Linked DNA regions of Homo sapiens: regions 2 and 3 are each linked to region 1. The links are contacts of gene promoters, found by promoter capture Hi-C in blood cells and fetal thymus (Javierre and others, 2016). All regions are on one chromosome and are shown on one strand. The core of a region is centred on a gene start or on the middle of the fragment in contact, and the rest is flanking DNA. Distances in the headings are between cores, read along the strand shown.

Region 1 (2,905 bases), core at 241-2,740:
CTCTGATAAAGAGGTGAGGATTTGCTCATACCATAATAATTAAAGTAAACCTCTTACTTCATTAAGAACAGGCCTATTTGGGGAGAGTGAAATAGAAAGTGGGAAATTATCTAATGTCTTGGGCCAAAATTATTCACCTGAGACTATTTTTCCTTTGAAGCATTAAAATAATTGTCTTACACTTCACTTTTATATTATCAACTTAGGCAAACTTTAGTATTTCATTGTTTTTAGCCTCTCTATATGGTCTTTGTGTCTAAAATTAGTATTTTCAATACTATAGTTATGACTTAGCTTATCCCACACTGACATGACTAAACCCAAATCTTCCCTTACTGAAGATTGAGTATATCTGCATCACATATTTCACCCCATGAACCCCCGCACTGTTTTTCAAAAGGGCCGAATGATTATTAAAAGTGCAAACACTCCTGACATCTCATTCAAATTTCCACAATCCTCTACTAAGACACTGATTCTTGCAATGAGTTAGGAGTCAGTTTGGCTTTGTGGATCTGGTAGAAGCTCACCAGATTTGAGTGGGAGAGTGCCCTTTCCTTCCTTGTACCCATTTCCCCCATCCTGAACCAACATGTTTTTAGGCCCTGGATCTTTAGAAGTTTAGTCATAACTAAGGCCAACGTGAAACCATGCGTCATCCCAACTTACCATTTGCAGAAAGCTTCCATCTCCCGTTGTTCCAGCCTTCTTTTTGCAGGCCCAAACTGTCATTGCAGCTGTGGTCCCCTGAGCACCAGTCAAGGGCAGCAGCTCGGCTCTAGAAAGAGAGATGACATAAATCTAGGGAAAAGCTACTGAAGGATGAAGATATTTCCCAAACTAACATTAGCGAGAGGGTACTTAGGGCATACTGGTACTCGAGTTTGCTCCTGCCCGCCCATCTTCTGCAAAAGCTCTAGTAATTTAACCTGAAACCACAGACCCGCCTCTCCGTCCTTTTTCCTGTTTCCCTACACTATGCAAACAGTACCTCTTTTAGCTGGCCCTCCATGCCATCACCCAAAAGGTCACGTACCGGCCAACCCTAAGGCATCTTCCAAATGACTCTCACTGTAACGTTCACCATCCGCTGTCCCAGATTCGAAACCTACCCTGCACGGCAATCCGCAAGCACTAACCGTGGTTGGTGGCTAGAATATGAGTAAGGATCACCGGGAGGAAGGGATTCCTCCCTCCAAATGGACGACTGAATCTTCTCTCCCCCACGCCCCACCCCAGCACCACCAGACGAACCCCATTTACCATCTCTCAAAGCGCAAAAATATTTAAAGCAATATTTAAAATACTTTAAGTGCGCCCCGTTTCCTCCTGCCACCCGTCCCAAAGCCCACACAGTCTTTCTCAAAAATGTGGATATTCAGGTTAACCTGCGATTTTGTTCGAAAGTGGCTAAACTGCATTATCCGAATAATTTACTTTTCCACTCCTTGGGTATAACTAAAATGCAGTTGGACAGAAAAGAGCTTGCAGTTGTCCAAAGTCATTCCGGCTCCAAAGGGCGAATTCTCTTTTCGCCATCTCTCCCAGCCCTGGAACAGCTTAGGGTCCCTCTCGAAGAGCACAGCGCCAGCCCAGACCCCATACACCCACCGTCCCTGGCACCCGAACGCGCTGCGAGCCCCGGGCCTCCCACAGGAGCGGAGACGCGGGTCCCTGCGCCTCACGCCGGAACGGACCCGTCAGAGCCGCCGAGCCCCGCACCTGGAAGCTGGGAGGCCGCGAGGACGGAGAATCGAGGCGGAGACCCAGCCCAGCGCCCGCGCAGCTCGGTGCCCTCCCGCCAGTGCCCGCACTCGGGTCACACCGCTTGCTCTCGGGAGAAGCCCCAAGGCTCGCGGTGCACCGAGAGGCGCCCGGGCTGGAGCGCCCCGGCCGTGTTGGCCACGGAGTTCTTCAGCTGCTTGATGACCACGAAGAGCAGGAGGAAAAGTAAGAAGAGCAGGAAGAAGAAGAGCGCCAGGTAGAGCAGCAAGTTGAGTTCCCACTCCATGCTGGAGGCGCCGGCGCTCGCTGGCCCTGCGCGCTCGGCGCGGGCTGCAGCTGGAGGGCGAGCGCGCCGCCCGCACACCCACCTCCCGCACTCCCGCCCCTCGCGAGGGCGTCCCGCTATGGGCGCCGACTCCGGGGTCCGTGCTTTGCCTCCCCCGGCTCCGAGGAAACGCGCCAAGGAGCTGAGGAAATCCGGCGCAGACTCTCCCAGCTGGCACCAAAGCCTTCCGCTTCGCCGAGATCCTCTCAGGTGCTCTTGAGGACGCGAGCGACTTCCCTAGGAGCGAACTTCCGCGGGCACGGACGCCAGAAGAGGTAACAGCTCAGTCTTCCAGGGGAGGTCGGGACTGGTGTTTTGTAAATGATTTAAAAGTTCCACCCCCAACATCCAGTAGGGTCCCTAGCTCCGCTGCGTTCCCAATTAATTTATTTCGTTATATCCCTCCGTTCCTGCTTTCCGAAAGGACAGGGGATGTCATGGCCCAGAGACCCAAAAGAATGAAAGGTGGCAGTGAAGATGGGGTCTGAAAGGCTATGAGATGATTTCGTGCTATGAGGTGTCTGAGTGAATTCCAGTTCGAGCTGTCTTGCTCTTCAGAGTAGCAGATACATTCAGTGTTGAGTGTACTTTTCTATGGACAACAGGTCACTTGGAAACGCATTAAGAATACAATGTATTTCAGAAGTTATATAGCACAAAGATTTCAAATATTGGCCTCAAATTCAGTTTATTTGGTGAAAAGAGGAAAACAAGTTTACTCAAAGTGTTTCTTGAGTCCCTAAAGCCTTTCTGTATCTGGTTGACGTGACCCAAAGCCCATATCGCGCAGCTTTAAAAGCTGTTCAGTGTATCTATTACTGCAGAACAAATTACCCCCAAATTTAGTGGCTTCAA
Region 2 (2,900 bases), core at 109-2,608, 1.6 Mb before region 1:
GAAAGCTGTCACACTGGCCCTCTGCCCTTGCAAAAAGGTCCATTGAGCTGGTTAACACTTGTATTAGTCTGTTCTCACACTGCTGATAAAGACATACCTGAGACTGGGCAATTTACAAAAGAAAGAGGTTTAATGGACTCATCGTTCCACATGGCTGGGAAGGCCTCACAATCATGGCAGAAGGTGAAAGGCATGTCTCACATGGCGGCAGACAAGAGAAGAGAGCTTGGGCAGGAAAACTACCCTTTATAAAACCATCATATCTTCTGAGACTTATTCACTATTATGAAAATAGCGTGGGAAAGACCTGCCCCCATGATTCAATTATCTCCCACTGGGTCCCTGCCACAACACGTGGGAATTATGGGAGCTACAATTCAAGATGAGATTTGGGTCTACAGGCTAAAAGAGTGCATTGTAACACACGCCCACTTGGGTTCCTGCATCTGTCCATCTGTGTGCTCCCCCTCCAGTAAGGGGTTTGAGCAGTGGCAGTGACCGAACAGATGAGCCACACCCGTCACATGTCCTGTGATGGGGGTCAGAGAACTCTCCCATTTCAGTGTGATTTCTGATGATCAAGAAATTTCTTTACAAAACAGAGGATGGAAAGGATGCGGCCAAGGACACAGGTTCCAAGTCAAACAGCCTTGGTTTACTACTAATTAAATATGACCTTGAGGAAGTCACTTAGTATTTCCTACCTTGGTTTTCCCATCTGTGCAGTGGGAATAATAATAATAGTCCTTCCTTCTAGGAACGGCATGAGTTATACATGAGAGAATATATGTAAAATTGGTAATTATCTGTATTATATACTTGGTATCATAACTAATTATAGATAGAATTACTTAAAATTACTTGGCATAAAGTACTCAGTATTTGGCTGTTTTCATGACCGCTGTTAACTGACTTGCTACCCTTGGGCAAGACACTTAATTTTTCTGAGTTGTCATTTGCCATGTGTAAAATGCTGACAAATCCCTACTTTGTAAGTTTGCTGGTTGGAGTCTACAAGCTTCTAGCTCATAGTTTATGATTAATATTACATTTTTCTTATTTATGCGCTTTTTGACCTTTATTGCCTTTTCTATTTCACATTATTACTATTATTTTAAAAAACTAAAGTCATTGTCTTTCAGCAGTAATGTTTCTAAATTTGAAGGGTTTGCCCAAAATGAGTGATATATTCATCAATCGTCCCGACTCAATTAGTGACTGAAATACTTCCTTCCGTACCAGCACTATCATTCTGAGGGATGTGGGGCTAACAAGAACCACCTCTTTTTGGGTGATTGGCAGGGAACCTGTAATCCAGGGGTCAATTCCCATGGGGCCTTGCACAATTGACACTACAGGCTGGCTCCTTTTGCTGAATAATCCACAGATGGGCTTCAGAGGCTGCTCCCTTCTGTAGATGAGGAGCTGTGCATGTCAACAGTAGCCTAGGGCTTTGTTCTACAGGGCCTTTGGCTAGCCATCTCAGGGGCTCTCCTGGCACATTACAAGAGATCTCTCCTCTCCTTGCAGATCTCATCCTGCCTTTCCTGGACCCCTGCCCTCCAAGGCCAGGCCTCACCTGTTCTGTCCACCTCACGAGATTCAAGTGTCAGGGTATCTGCCTTTATCTCCATTTTCTCACCTGCCTTTATTATGGCATACAACTCATGCTCTGTTCACCGCAGGGACTTTCCCTGTAAAAGCTTAGTTTGTAAAACTTCTTCTTTGACATCTTGAAAGACCCGAAGCTCCTGTAGGAAATGGAAATACCACTGCGTATTCAGCAAACAGCCATGAGGTGCAAGAAAGAAAGGAAAACCCAACACTGAAGGTGAATATTCCAGGGACTTCTCTCATCACTTGCATGGGGCCACAGTGTTGCTTTATTGTCCTCTAAATGTGTGGTGCCTGAGTCACCGCACCTACTTCACCATCATACCTGATCTTTAGGAATCTCATCAGTTCTGCATTTTAGAAAGCTCTGTAAGCATACTTGGGCCCAAGCTTTATCTGTGCTTCCAAGAACATAATAAAATTGCCTATAATATCTTGGTTCAAGAAATTGAGAAAGCTTCCAACCCCACTGGAAACAAGAAAAATATATTTTTTAAAAAGAAAGAAATTAAGAAAGCTGTTCACATCATTTGGCCCGTAACTCCTATTTCTAACTATATGTTGAATGTCTACTATGTGCTAGGCTCTGTAAAAATGATAGTTGATGTTAGTGGCTCCTGTGAGCTCTGAGTACATTGTCTTATTTAATCCCTGTAATAATCCCAGTGAGTGGGCATGATTACTACCACCATTCTACAGGTGAGGAAACTGGAACTTGCATGGGTTAAACAGAAGGAGGGGGCAGGATTTGGCCTGGAAGGCAGGCCTGCCTGTTAGAAGGCAAATATTCTGTGTTTGACCACTCTGCTCTACCATCTTATTTAACTAGAAGCTGCCTTCTTGGAAATTTTAACTATTTATTAGAAGCCTCTGATGAGAAAGAATGCAAGAAAGGCCCTGACAGCTGTATGCATTCACATAAAATGGTTCATGTTTTATATAAAAAGAACAGCCTCTTATCCCATCACTCCTATAGGCTTAATTTTCTGATTATCCAAACACAGGCAAGGTTACAAAATGTCAAGTTAGAGGATTGGGGACAAAGATGTTGCTAGAAGTAAGCACTCAAGGAGGGTGGCAACAGGAACAAGTGGTAGTGACAGTGAGGGTGAAAGACAGAGATTCCACCAACAAAACAAAGCACAACATCAGAGCACATCCACGACAGTGGGGACCTCATCCGACCTGTGCGCCACTGAACACCCAGCACTCAGGAGAACACGTCTTTGTTGACAAGATGAACAAATGAATGCGTGTTAGAAAACACTGCAGAATGCTGAGGCCTT
Region 3 (2,985 bases), core at 179-2,678, 1.7 Mb before region 1:
GTGGCTCATGCCTGTAATCCCAGCACTTTGGGAGGCTGAGGAGGGCGGATGACGAGGTCAGGAGATTGAGACCATCCTGGCTAACACAGTGAAACCCTGTAAAAAAAAAAAAAATACAAAAAATTAGCCGGGTGTGGTGGCGGGCACCTGTAGTCCCAGCTACTCAGGAGGCTGAGGCAGGAGAATGGCATGAACCCGGGAGCTGGAGCTTGCAGTGAGCTGAGATCGTGCCACTGCATTCCAACCTGGGTGACAGAGCGAGACTCCATCTCAAAAAAAAAAAAAAGTTTATTCAAACGTGCTCCTTCCATAACATGAGTGTCTTTTGAAAAACGGAATGGAAGAATGTTAATTTTTCTGAAGTTCTTGTTAGCACAGTACTGCAAAGAGAAAGAGCCAGTAAATCTGGCACAGCTGACTTGCATTTCCTCAGGGTACCAATCATGGCCTATGACTCCCTTTTTTTTCTAAATTTTTAAAACTGACAAATAATAATTGTACATATTTACAGGGTGCATAGTGATGTTGTGGTCTATACAATGTATAGTGATCAGATCAGGGTAATCAGCCTATCTATCATCTTAAACATTTATAATTTCTTTGTGTTTCAAACATTCAATATCCCCATTCTAGCTATTTTAAACTATTATTAACTTGTAGGATGTAGTCATCCTACAAGTGCTGTAGAACACTAGAACTTACTCTTATCTAGCTGTAATTTTGTTTCCTTTAACAAATCTCTCTGTCCTCTCTTTCCGCCTACCCTTCCCAGCCTCTAGTATTCTCTGTTGTACTTTTTACTTCTGTGGGATCAACTTTTTTAACTTCCACATATGAGTAAGAACGTGACCTTCTGACATGGAGACTGTGTGAGTGTGCAATGTCAGTCCATTTTTTGAAATCCATTTTTTTAGTAAAGCTTATTTTCCTAGGTTAAAACATAAATTAAATAGAAGTTGTAACATTCCTTCCTATACTCCCAAAAGGATTGTTTTTTGCATATATTCCACTTTGGAAGCCACTGATTTTGAGGATGTTTGCAGAAACCTTATTGATTAGGGGATGAGGCACCTGAGTTGGGAATAGTAGTGTTCCGTGCTTGTCCTCTCTTCTAGGTAAATATGGAATAGACCTAGTTAGGATGGCTGACCTGCATGCCTATGTGGAAATTTGAAGTATCATTCTTTTTTTTTTTTTTTTTTTTCTGAGACAGAGTCTTGCTCTTTCACCCAGGCTGGAGCGTGGTGGCACCATCTCAGCTCACTGCAATCATCGCCTCTCAGGTTCAAGTGATCCTTATTCCTCAGCCTCCTGTGTAGCTGGGATTACATGCATGCACCATCACACCCAGCTAATTGTTGTATTTTTTAGTGGAGACAAGGTTTCGATGGTCTTGCACTCCTGGCCTCAAGTGATTCACCCACCTTGACCTCCCAAAGTGCTGGGATTACAAGTGTGAGCCGCCATGCCCGGCGTGAGCTATCATTCTTTATAATGGACTTTGCAGAACAATCCTGTAAGGAAAATACATTCTTATTGGGAAGGAGTGCTCCAGACTCTTGAACCCCATCTATTTACCACTGCCCAAAGCACAGAATAAAAGCCATCTTAGGGGTTTCAACAAATCCTGTCATAAAAGTCCACTTAGATCACATAAAAAAAAAAAACTTTATTACTGGTTGCATAATGAGGGAGTGTCATGGTCTTGTCTAAAAGAAGCAGGAATCTCCAAGCAATCTACCAACAGCAGAGATCACATGCAGATATGTCAAAAAAAGATGTTAGCCTAGCATGTTCCAGAGAAACTTCTTAGAAGCAGACTATCTGGACAATTTAAGAAGAATTATATAGGAGTTATTTTCCTTATCGGTAAAATGGATGTAACAATAGTACTTGTCACATATAATTTTTCTGAGTATTACATGAGATAATTTAAATGAAGCTTTGGCTTAATGCTAATATGTTATTGTTATTGTTTTATTATTATATTGTTACTGTTGTTGTTAATAAGACAGCTTTTCACCACTTTTCCACGCACCTTTCCTGGGTTGGTACATGTTTAGTTTAGCATAACTAAAGGAGGCTTTAGATAATACAACTTAAGGCACAGATGAGATAGAAACTCTTATAACATATATAATAATGATAGCCAACATTATTAACCACATACTATCTGCCAGGCACATTTCTATGTGCTTTACAAGAATCATTTTATTTAATCCCTCATTAGCTCAAGAGTTAGATACTACTATTACCTGAATTAAGTTACAGAAGGAAGTTGAATAATTTAGCTAAGGTCACCCAGCTAGGAGAACTGGAGTCAAATCCAAGCAATCTAGATGGTACCAGAATATGAATCCTGAAAGCATCAAAGATCTGACTATATTTTAGATAACTCTAATTTGAGGCAAACTATAGTGGGTCCTTAATATTCCTCCATCCTTGCTATGTAACTCCTGAGACCCATTCAGCAATGGAAACCAATGGAGCTGAATGGCTGGAAAGTCACAGAATTGGAACAAGGAAAATAATCCAAAAGTGGAAGAAAAGAGTCCAAAACTGGAGGAAAAGAAACAAGAGGTAGGATCCAGGGTGCAATACTGGCTCATCTGGCTAAGAGTGGATGGCCAAAAGGGGTACCCTGACTAGGGCTGCAAAAACAGGAATTTTTTAAAAATTTTGTGCTTAAAAGATCTTGTCAATTTTCTACTTAAAAGATCTTCAGTGAACTAAGAGGAGGCATTAAACAAATATTCTGGCCAAGGGATAGAATGGCATTTGAAATAGCCTACTCTTTGTCCTGCCAATTTTATTGATAGCTCAGACAAAAGGAAATGAGAATATGCAATACAGCAGGAATGTAAAAAGATGACAAATTTGAGAGACATTTTAAAAATGTGTTGAGATGTGTTTGGTTGTACTCTGAAGAACAGCCTGGGTTTTGGGGGATCATGGTGTGGAGCTGTTATACATGGAGATGATATA

Evidence for each region. Contacts are between HindIII fragments. The CHiCAGO score rates a contact against its expected background, and 5 or more counts as called.
Region 2: a contact is called between a fragment that was not itself captured here and the fragment with the promoter of PP12613 in region 1, in 1 of 17 cell types (activated CD4 T cells). The highest score is 7.3, in activated CD4 T cells.
Region 3: a contact is called between a fragment that was not itself captured here and the fragment with the promoter of PP12613 in region 1, in 5 of 17 cell types (activated CD4 T cells, non-activated CD4 T cells, naive CD8 T cells and 2 more). The highest score is 9.5, in activated CD4 T cells.

The regions. Positions count from the first base shown.
Region 1 is chr4:121,763,095-121,765,999 of GRCh38, forward strand. PP12613 (a long non-coding RNA gene) reads left to right here and starts at 1,491. Exons shown (of 1, transcript NR_024365.1): 1 at 1,491-2,905. It overlaps SMIM43 (small integral membrane protein 43), which reads right to left and starts at 2,070. Exons shown (of 6, transcript NM_001384332.1): 1 at 1,723-2,070; 2 at 670-778. The coding sequence starts at 2,011. The coding sequence ends at 1,820. The HindIII fragment of the contact is 5,910 bases long and covers 681-2,905 here.
Region 2 is chr4:120,141,278-120,144,177 of GRCh38, forward strand. All of the region lies in intron 2 of MAD2L1-DT (MAD2L1 divergent transcript), which reads left to right. Among named protein-coding and RNA genes, the nearest start is that of MAD2L1-DT, 76 kb to the left of the region's middle. The HindIII fragment of the contact is 685 bases long and covers 1,017-1,701 here.
Region 3 is chr4:120,075,542-120,078,526 of GRCh38, forward strand. All of the region lies in intron 1 of MAD2L1-DT (MAD2L1 divergent transcript), which reads left to right. Among named protein-coding and RNA genes, the nearest start is that of MAD2L1-DT, 10 kb to the left of the region's middle. The HindIII fragment of the contact is 1,023 bases long and covers 918-1,940 here.